2 separate regions of the Homo sapiens genome follow, and region 1 is linked to region 2. Evidence: promoter capture Hi-C in human tissues and cell types (Jung and others, 2019). All regions are on one chromosome and are shown on one strand. The core of a region is centred on a gene start or on the middle of the fragment in contact, and the rest is flanking DNA. Distances in the headings are between cores, read along the strand shown.

What was found. Contacts are between HindIII fragments. The study calls those that stand out against the background at their distance.
Region 1: a fragment that was not itself captured here is called in contact with the fragment with the promoter of VSTM5 in region 2 in 1 of the 25 tissues and cell types used here (heart left ventricle).

Annotation. Positions count from the first base shown.
Region 1 is chr11:94,510,215-94,515,431 of GRCh38, forward strand. It overlaps C11orf97 (chromosome 11 open reading frame 97), which reads left to right and starts at 2,247. Exons shown (of 4, transcript NM_001190462.2): 1 at 2,247-2,459. The coding sequence starts at 2,315. It also overlaps a transcript of MRE11 not described here. RefSeq lists an enhancer at 1,905-2,423 and a silencer at 2,276-2,495. The HindIII fragment of the contact is 8,524 bases long and covers 1-5,217 here.
Region 2 is chr11:93,847,184-93,852,396 of GRCh38, forward strand. It overlaps VSTM5 (V-set and transmembrane domain containing 5), which reads right to left and starts at 3,435. Exons shown (of 4, transcript NM_001144871.2): 1 at 3,229-3,435. The coding sequence starts at 3,319. The HindIII fragment of the contact is 15,680 bases long and covers 211-5,213 here.

The sequences.
Region 1 (5,217 bases), core at 2,113-4,612, 660 kb after region 2:
GTCTATTTTGGAAAGCTTTTAAGTAATTTCTCTATTTTATCTAAGTTGTCAAATTTACTAGCATCAAATTATTCAAAATATCTTCCTATCTTTTTAATGCCTGTAAGATCTTTAGGTATAGATTTACCATTTCTGATATTGGTGAAACTAATCTTAAAGAAGTTTATTCTGTGAGAACTAACAAATGACAGTTGACAGAATGAACAGCATCTTTAAAAATAGTTTCACTTAAAATTCTGAAATATTTCTTATTTGACTTTTTTCCCACTGCTTCTTGATAAAAACTAAGAACATAATGTTAAAATAGCATCATGAGTCAATCAAATGAAATCTAGGTGTTTTTGCTTTCAAATTATATAAACCCATATTAGGTAAGGATATAGTGAATATAAGTCATTTAGAATAACTTTTTGGAAATTATTTCTGCCATTTGGACTTCTGATAGGTGAGTTGCCATAATTCACCTATCAGAACTCATGGTGAGTTGCCATAACTCACCCATCAAATTATTTCAGCCATATGGACTTCTGATAGCCGAAGGGCTTAGCAAAAGCCAAGGCATGTTGGCAGTAACATAGCTGGGTGAGAATGGCGATGAATTCACTCCAAACATGTTAGGTAAAAGTTATACACACACGTACAAACATGTCAACAACTCTGTTCAAATCAAATCTTAGGCAGAATGTGAGCTCAACTACATAAGGGCAGGGATTTTTGTATGTTTTGTTCATGGCTGCATCCTTAGCACATATAATAGCTCCTGACACAAAGCAGTCATTCAATGAATATGTATTAAATGAATGAGGAGTGCCTGAACTGCCTGGAGAAACACTGTGGGTACTGGAGAGCAGTTTGAAATTCAAACTCATGTTAAGAAAAATCTCTCAGAAAATAGTGCAAAAATACAGAGATATAAAAAAGGAACGCAACCTTTCCACACAACCTTTTAATTGCCTCTCGCTCTCTCTCTATATATATAGATAGATATAGATAGATATCTCTCTACAGAGAGAAAGAAAGAGAGAGCGATCTCCTGCTTTTGCTATGTGAGCTGCCTGTTCCTCCTTTGCCTTCCACCATGATTGTAAGTTTCCGGAGGCTTCACCAGAAGCCAAGCAGATGCCAGCATCATGCTTCCTGTAAAGCCTGAAGAACTGTGAGCCAACTAAACCTTTTTTCTTTATAAATTACCCAGTTTCAGGTATATAGCAATGCAAGACTAGCCTAATACAATTGTCATAGTAATGTAAACAAATATTACTCTAGCCAAAATTTCAATTTATCTATAATGGGAGTATAAAGGAGCAATAAGTATATGTGACACAGGGAGTATGAAAGAGAGAGAAATCTCGTCTTTCATCGTAGGAAATCAACATGATATCTAAAATTGAAAAACATAAAAAGCAGCAATATAAGGATTTGGTATTAAAAGTGTTTGGCTCTGGGGTACAGTGGAGACAGAAGAGGTCTCCTATATTTGGTTGCAAGCCTTGTAGAACGATTTAATACTATAAAACAATGCACATTCAACTTCCATAAAATTAACACCACAACGTAATCCATTTTTAAGGCCTGCAAAACCAAACCAAGACAAAAGCAACCTTATGCTCCAAATAAAACCCTGAATTTTTCTACTTGCTCTTCAAATTAAAATTTGCTGAATTTGATTTCATCTGTAAAGTTAGTTATTAGTTTGTTATTTTGTGAATACAAAAGAGCTTGGAAACTACAATGTGCTTAATATAATAATTCACAACGTGAAAGTTGGGAATCCTCAGTATTTACTTATTCAATCACGTTGCGTGTGTGTAGCAGGGAGCAGGACGCGACAGGCACAAGGCTGCGTGAAACCAGCGACGGTGCCTTGCACTCACCTGCACACCGGTTCCACTTCTAACTTTTCTGTTCTGGGCAGTGATCTGTTCTGTCGGCTTGGGACCAGACTTCTGAGTCCACATTCCAACGGTGCCGCTTCCTAGCTATGAGGCCTTATGCAGTTTCCTTCGCTTTTTCTGAATCTCGGATTCTCTGGGAATAGTAAAGCCTCTCTTGCCGAGCTCGTGTGAGAAATTAACAATAAATTAACGAGAAATTAATGGAAAGTCCTTTGCTTTGGTCAATGATAATAATAACCCCAGCCCCATAACTTCAGCACCTTCTTTGGTGCGCGGAATACCTAGGGCCTCGGAAGGCCGGCTGGGGGCGGGGAGAATCGGCAGTCACTATGGCAACCCGAGACGCCTCGCATGCTGGGCTGCCTGCGACTGAGCTGAGAAGGAAACCGTGCCCAGGGCTCTCGGAAGACCGCTGCGGCATGACAGGCGAGGAGGCGGTGGTGGTGACCGCAGTGGTGGCGCCCAAGGCGGGTCGCGAAGAGGAGCAGCCTCCTCCGCCAGCAGGGCTGGGGTGCGGGGCGCGCGGGGAACCCGGCCGCGGCCCCCTAGAGCACGGCCAGCAGTGTGAGTTCAGCTCCAGCCGCGGACGCTACTGGGAGGAGGGGCGTGGAGAACGAGTGACAGGGCAATTGGGGGAAACCGCAGTGGGACTGGCTGAGAAGGTTTGGGGCAGGGGAGGTGGAGCTGCTGCTTTTGGCAGAACCAGAGATGATGGCACTGTGGCAGAAAGCATAGGTCCATCTTTCCAAGCCCTCCTTCCCGATAGCCTGCCTGAATTCAGGGTCTGGGCATCAGCTCCAATTTAATCATAGTGGCGTTATTCTGAAAGGAATTAACACACACACACACACACACACATTTATATGTATACCATTTTATATACACATTTGTATATGTATATGTGTATGTATGTATGTATGCGTATACACCCTTAGAAACACGCAGCTCATTTTGCCAGTTATTTCATTTTACAGATGAGGAAATTGAGATCTAGACCAGAGGAAAGAGACTTGCCACAGCCAGTCAGTGCAGGCGAAATACTAAAATCACTTTTAACTTCCATCTCTTGGACTCTCAGTCTACAATTACCCAATCCTTTTAGAATCTCATAATTATGGGCTACATTTTAACGCACTGTTCTTTGCTCTCTGCCCTGACAAACACACAATATTCAAATAGGTAAAGACAGTTCTGGCCCACAGCCATAATGGAAGTGGTTGTAATTTGAGTCCTAGCCAGGTTGTTATTCACCCATACTGTTTCATGAATTAACAGATATTTCACAGCCTCTTGCACCCCCAGGTCTTCAGTAGGTGCTAAGGAATGATGGTGAGAAGAATAAGCCAGAGGAACAGAGTAGTTTCCAGCCTTCCTGCAGCACCTTCTTGACTGCATCTCTGGAGAGCAGACTGGGTTTCTCCAAGGTTCCTCTGCACCGGGAGGCCCCAGGAGGGAGGGTTGGGCTGAAGCACCTCCATACTTGTGCTTGGTGGACCACACACTCTCCTCCCCAGAGACCTCATCAAGAAGTTACAGAACTACTGCCTCCTGGTGAAAGGGGCCTCTTCCCTGGGCATCAGCTCCAGTATGACTATGAAATGTCATTCCTTTTGTTATTATTATCAGCAGCATGCAGAGGCCTTGCTTAGAGCACATAAATTCAGTATACTTGGGTAATGGAGATTCTTTACTCCTACTTAAAATTATTATGATTATTATTATTTTTAGACAACTCTGTTGCCAGGCTGGAGTGCAGTGGCATGATCTGGGCTCACTGCAACTCAGCCTCCTGGGTTCAAGCAATTCTCATGCATCAGCCTCCTGAGTAGCTGAGATTACAGGCACACACCACCATGCCCGGCTAATGTTTTCGCATTTTTAGTAGAGACAGGGTATCGCCATGTTGGTCAGGCTGGTCTTCAACTCCTGGCCTCGAGTGATCCGCTCGCCTCAGCCTCCCAAAGTGCTGGGATTACAGGCATGAGCCACCACGCCCAGCCTCCTACTTCAAATTCTATCAGGAAATTTCCCCATTAAAGATGCTAGTTTCTAAGTTTCTTTAGTCCTGTGGCTCTAGGAGTAAAAGGTGGGATTAACATTCACTCATCAATTTAACATATTGAGTCTTTATTACATGCTAGGCATTCCACAAGTTTCAGGGAAAGAACTAATGACTTAAGGCAGGTGTCCAAACTTTCACAAGCTCACAAAGTTGGGGTGGGAAAATGAAAGAGTTCCTGCCTCAGCCTCCCTCAGAACCTCCTTTTAGGGACTCAGCCTAAGTAGAGACAGGCTGTTCGCACAAGCACAAAGTACTCAGTCAATTTTTCAAATGTCTGTAATTATTGGAAAAGTCTTCAGTCTCTTTACAGCTTCTATTCCCTATATTCCCTAATCACAGTCCTGCTCTCAAACACGAAGTGTGGTTGTTTGCTTGTAAACATCCTTGAATTATATAAAGGCAGCTCCTTGAGCACCAACCAAATCTTTCATAGACTTAATGTCACCTTTATTTTTTATTTATTTTTGCCTTTTTTTTTTTTTTTTTTTTTTTAGACAGAGTCTTACTCTGTTGCCCAGGCTGGAGTACAGTGGCGCGATCTCGGCTCACCGCAACTTCCCCTTCCTGGGTTCAAGCAATTCTTTGGCCTCAGCCTTCCAGGTAGCTGGGACCACAGGCATGCACCATCACGCCTGGCTAATTTTTGTATTTTTAGTAGAGATGGGGTTTCACCATGTTGGCCAGGCTGGTCTTGGACTCCTGACCTCAAGTAATCTGCCCACCTCAGCCTCCCAAAATGTTGGGATTACAGGCATGAGCCACCGCGCCTGGCCAATGTCACCTTTAGGATCACTTGTAGTGCTCTAACCTGGCTGGCTGGCCACTTCTTCCAACAATCTCCAGTGTATCATATCACTGAAACCTGTATTCTAGGTATGAACTGATTAGTAGAGTGTGGTGGATCTATAACTGTGCGTTGTAATAAACTATGAATAATTTGTAATAACCGTAGGAGCTTGGGAGACTCAGGTAGGTGTGGCTTCTCATTTTCATTATTTTAGTTTTATGACTCAAGGAAGCTACTTTCTCAACTATAAAACAGGAATAATTATACTTGCCCATAGGTCATTGTGAGAAAGAGAAATAATAATATATATAAGATGCAATTGTTATTAGCTCTCAGGAAAAAAAACAAAAAACAACAAAAAAAAATCCAAAAAACGTGGAATAATAATTGTTTCAAAAGAAATTCTGGAATAATACTGTTCTTAGTCATACTTCTCAGTGATCACAGCTTCTCATCCTCTATACACACAAGAC
Region 2 (5,213 bases), core at 2,185-4,684:
CTCATGTGTCTCTGTTTGATCAGGGATCAGTGCACGGCCCACGGCAACATAGTAGGTGCTTCTAAGATGTTTGCCACATGGATGGCAGCGTTGGGCAGCTGCTGAGGACTTATGGAGTGATGGACCCAGAGTCTCGTGAAGGGCCTTGAGAGGATTCCTTCTATACTGGCTCCCTCCTCATCCCATCCGCCCCCACCTTCCACTAAGCCCAGAACCCACAGCTCCATTCTGGCTGTGGCATCCCTGGGTCTGTCCACTCCCTCCTCAGCTTCAGATTCAGCCCTAGCCCTGTTCCTCTATTTTTCTGAGGACTGGCCCCAGTGTGTATATGTGTGTGTGTTGGGGGAGCTGACTGTTACTTAGAAACTGGGATTGGAAAAAAGCAAGTTGATTCTGGCCCAGGCCATTAACTAAACTATCCTACTATAGTCTTGGATCAAGTACTTCCGAATGAGAGGGAGCACTGGGTGGGTACTCGTGAGCCTGATGGCTAATGTACTGGGAAAGGACATGAACAAATGTTCTAGAAAGGTGCCTGGTCTGGTGGGGAGGCCTGCCAGCTTTCCGAGCCCATAAGTCCTTGTCCTAGTCAGCTTGGGCTGCTGTAACAGATGACCATAGACTGATGTGGCTTAAACCACAGTTATTTCTCACAGTTCTGGAGAGGCTGGGAAGCTCAAGATCAAGGTGCCAGTTTTTGGTGAGGGCCTTCTTCCTGGCTTGCTAATATGCATTTTCTTGCTGTGTCCTCACACAGCTGGGAGGGAGAGCTCTGGTCTCTCTTCCTCTTCTTATAAGGACACTAATCCCATTATGGGATCCCACCTCAAGACCTCATCTAAACCAAATCACCTCCCTAAATCCCCTCCTCCAAATACCATCACATTGGAGGTTAGGGCTTGAATATATGAATCTTGGGAGGACCCATACATTTGTAGGGGAAAGGTTTCAAAAGCAGGGTGTTTGGCATGCTTTAACTCAGACTTCAGGGTAAATAGTGAATATCAGAGGTTCTGGATGAAGCTTTTGACACAGGCAGAAGAGGTAGAGCATGCAGGGAACTGGTAGGAAGGAGGAGGCCTACTCTTCATCATTATGACTGGCTCCAAAGCACAGGCTTCATTCAGGCAGGCACACATTCATTTAACGTCTTTTAAGGGCGCAGGCCCTGGCTAGCACTGGGCAAGTGCTAGGGACCCTGAGTTGAAACAGAGTGCTTGCCCTCCTGGAGCTTACTGCTGTCCATGAGACAGGTCTCAATGGAAAACTGCAAACTTTTACCTGGCCTCCAGGTTTTGCATGTGCCATTTTGTCTGGTACACCCTGCATTCCCTTTGTCCTGTCCCCCGAGCTGCTCCTACCCATCTGGCAGGTATGGGCAGGTGGGGCTGTTTTGGGGAAGTTTCCTCAAGTCTGGATTCTGAGACGCTAGGGCTTCTAGAACATGGCACCTCTTGCCTCTCAAGGCTTGCCATTGCAAGGCTGCCCCTCTTGTTTGCATGTCTGTCTTCTCCATGACACCTGAGCTTCCTGAGAACGAAACAGTGAACCACCATATCCTAGGTACCCACTGTGGCCTGCTTCCTGCAGGGAGAGGGTACAGTCAATGAGTGAGTGAATGAATGAATTATACGCTATTGCAAATGGCTGGTCCCTGAGCATGAGGGGTATCTGAACAGATGTGTAAGTATGGTGATTAGAAACAAGTGATAAAGGTTTGAGAAATAATATAAAAAGCCACTGCAATGACAAACACACCCATCCACCTGCTCGAGACTAACAACCAACTGTTTTCTTGATCCATAGCTGCCAGAGGAACATGCCTCTGTCTTACTGGGTTTCTGAGATTTGCAACCTCTGCAGCTGGGTTCTAGCCAGAGAGGTGTAAAGGTCAAAAATGTTAGATCGTTCAGTCACCTTGTATAAGTTAACATAATATTATTTTTTCTCTCTCTCTCTTCTTTTCTTTTTCTTTCGCTTTGGAGAAGGTCTCATTCTGTTCCCCAGGCTAGAGTGCAGTGGCACAATCAGGGCTCACTGAAGCCTCAATCTCCTGGGCTTAAGTGATCCTTTCACCTCAGCTCCCCCGCCGCCCACCCCAGTAGCTGGGCCTACAGGCACAGGCCACCACACCCAGCTAATTTTTTCATATTTTTACTACAGACAGTTTGCCATGTTGCCCAGGCTGGTCTTGAACTCCTGGACTCAAGGGATCCGCTGGCCTCGGCCTCCCAAAATGCTGGGAATACAGGCATGAGCCCCTGCGATTGGCTTATAACATTTCTGTGCCTCAGTTTCCTCACTTGTGAAACAGGAATAAGAGTAGTTTATTAGGGTTGCCCTAAGGACTAAATGAGAGAGGTCTTGTAAAGTCTGAGGGATGGTGAATGCATAAATGCTTAATAAGTGCTGGCTCTTACTACAAGGCCTCTCACCTCCAGCGGCCCTGCTCTGTCATTCTCTAAACCTCAGTTGGCCCATGTGTAAGATGGGAGTGCGAATGGTAATGATTAAATGAGAAAGTAAAACTGTGCTAAGATCTGTTGTTTGTGTCCAAGAGAGCCTCTGGGACTACGCTTCGCATCCAGGCTCACCAGGCTGGGGATTCCGGGTCCGGCCATCCAAAGCAAATCTACTCAGTGCGCTGGTCGCGAGGACCACCTCCAGCCTGGGGACTTCAGGCCACAACGCCCAACCCAAACCCCAGAACCGTTTTTCTCACGGGAGCAGGCTGCTGTGGGTTCGTCTGACTGATAAGGAGGCCTGATTATTCTCCTGGGAGATGACCAGGAAGGCCATGGAGGGGTCCCCACAGTAGGGGGCGGCGCACGGACTGCAATCTGGTTATTCCAGGAAAAAGAAATAAAAAATGTTGCAGAGGCGGCGGCCACAGGGCTGGGAGCCGGTTATCTCTGGGCCACCTTCCAGCTCTGATAACCGTAGGCCGGGCTCGCCGGGTGGGGCGGGCGCCCCGAAGTGGGCCGGGGCGCCGCGGCCGGTAGCCTCTGCTTTGCCCAGCCCCTCCCGCTACGGTCGGCGCCGGGTCTCCAGGCCTCGCCCAGCCCCACGAGGAAGCGGCGCGGTGCCTGCCAGCCGAGCTCACCGCGCGCCCTCAGCCGGACAAGGTGGGCGAGGGCCAGGGGGGCCGCTGCTAGACCCCGGGGCCCCGCCCGTGCCCCCCTACCCATTCCCGCTCCCCCAGCACCCGGGGCGTCCCCCGGAGCTTACTCTGCAGACAGCGGGCTGCGGCCAGGCAGAGGGCGAAGAGTCCTAGGGAGATGCCTCGGGTCTTCCTCCTCCCGCTGGGCAGAGGCCTCATGGGCGAGCCCGGGGCCTCGCGGGCCGGGGTGTGTGCTGGCCGCACCGCGCTGCAGCTCCTATGCAGCCTTCTCTCTTCCTCCGCCTCTGGCTGCCGCAGGTTCTTTAGGGCCAGATGCAGATGAGCTGGTTGTACTCTGGTTGAACCAGTTCCCAAGGATGGGGGGGCGGGGGGGGGGGGGTGTTGCGCGGGAGAGAATTAATATGGGAAGGAATGGGAATGCACAGACTCAGAGGTAAATAATGGCAAATAATGAGCAGCCTCCTTCCGTTCACACCCATTTTACTGGTATTGATTCAAGGTTCGGCTGGATGCTAGGTGGCAGGAAGGAGGGAAAGTACTAGCTATTGCTTCAGGACAGAGCTAGTCATTGGCATCATGGGCAAAGGGAAGGCTTTTAGGAAAGTGAAATGACAGCCTGGAGTGAGAGGGATGAGGGGAGGGGGTGGGGAGACTCAGGCTGCCCTGATGGGAACCACTGCACAGTGATGATATCCATCCATCTATCCACCCATCAGTCCATCCATCCATCCCTCCATCCATCCAGGAAATGTTCACCAATCGCCTGCTTTATTTGCACAGAGCCTCGCACATGGCAGTCACTCAAATAAACCGGTGGAATGAAGCTAGGCACTGTGTTAAGTGCTGGGGATACAAGGATGTGGGCACCTGTTTAGAAATCCTAGCAAGGGGTGGGGGCTGCAAAAAATGAGCAACCGCTAGGCCGAGGCGGGCGGATCACGAGTTCAGGAGATCGAGACCATCTTGGCTAACACAGTGAAACCCCGTCTCTACTAAAAATACAAAAAAAAAAATTAGCCGGGCGTGGTGGTGGGTGCGTGTAGTCCTAGCTGCTCGGGAGGCTGAGGCAGGAGAATGGCGTGAACCCGGGAGGCAGAGCTTGCAGTGAGCCGAGATAGCGCCACTGCACTGCAGCCTGGGCGACAGAGGGGGACTCCGTCTCAAAAAAAAAAAAAAAAAAAAAAGCAACCGCTGTACAGTGCATATGTCGCTAGGATCAGAGAGGCCCAGCATGCTCTGGGGGCTCAGAGCAAGTGTAATTAGTCTCCAGGAGAGGTCGATGGAGGGGTGGGGCAATCAGTTTTGGTCCAAACTAGTCATGAAATTATATTTCACTTTGTCAAAACTAGAATTTCTAGCCTCACTTGCCACAAGGGGTAGCAGTGTGACCCAGTGCTGGCCAGTGATATTTAAGGGGAAGTCTTTTTGAGGTGTTTCTGGAAAAGTTTTTGCTTTCCTCATAAAAAGGACAGCTAAGGCTGGGACTTCCCCTCCCCCTTTCTTTCTGCCTTGAAAACATTTATTCTGTTCAGATCTGTGGCATGTGTCTTGCATCCATTAAGTTACATAAATGAATGCAAAAACCATCATGCTAAGTAAGGATGGTGGAGCAGGAAGATAGAAAGACCTAGAAGGGCCGGGTGTGATGGCTCACACCTGTGATCCCAGCACTTTGGGAGGCCGAGGCAGGTGGATTGCATGAGCCCAGGAGTTTGAGGCCAGCCTGGACAACATACTGAGACCCCATCTCTACAAAAAAAATATAAAAATTAGCCTGGGCATGGTGGCCCACGTCTGTAGTACTAGCTACTTGGGAGGCTGAGGCAGGAAGATCACTAGAGCCCAGGAGGCAGAGGTTGTAGTAAGCCATGAATGTACCACTGCACTCCAGCCTGGGTGACAGAATGAGACCCTGTTTAAAAAAAAAGATAGGAAGGAAGACATAGAAGACATCGTAATCCACTGTACTTTCCTATCTCCTTCTGGTTTCTAAAGGAGATTTCTTGCCAATTCCGATGTGTTCCTGGTGAGGCCGACACTAGTGTTACCCTGCTGACTGGCTTGGGGTGGGCTTGTCAACCATGCTGTCCAT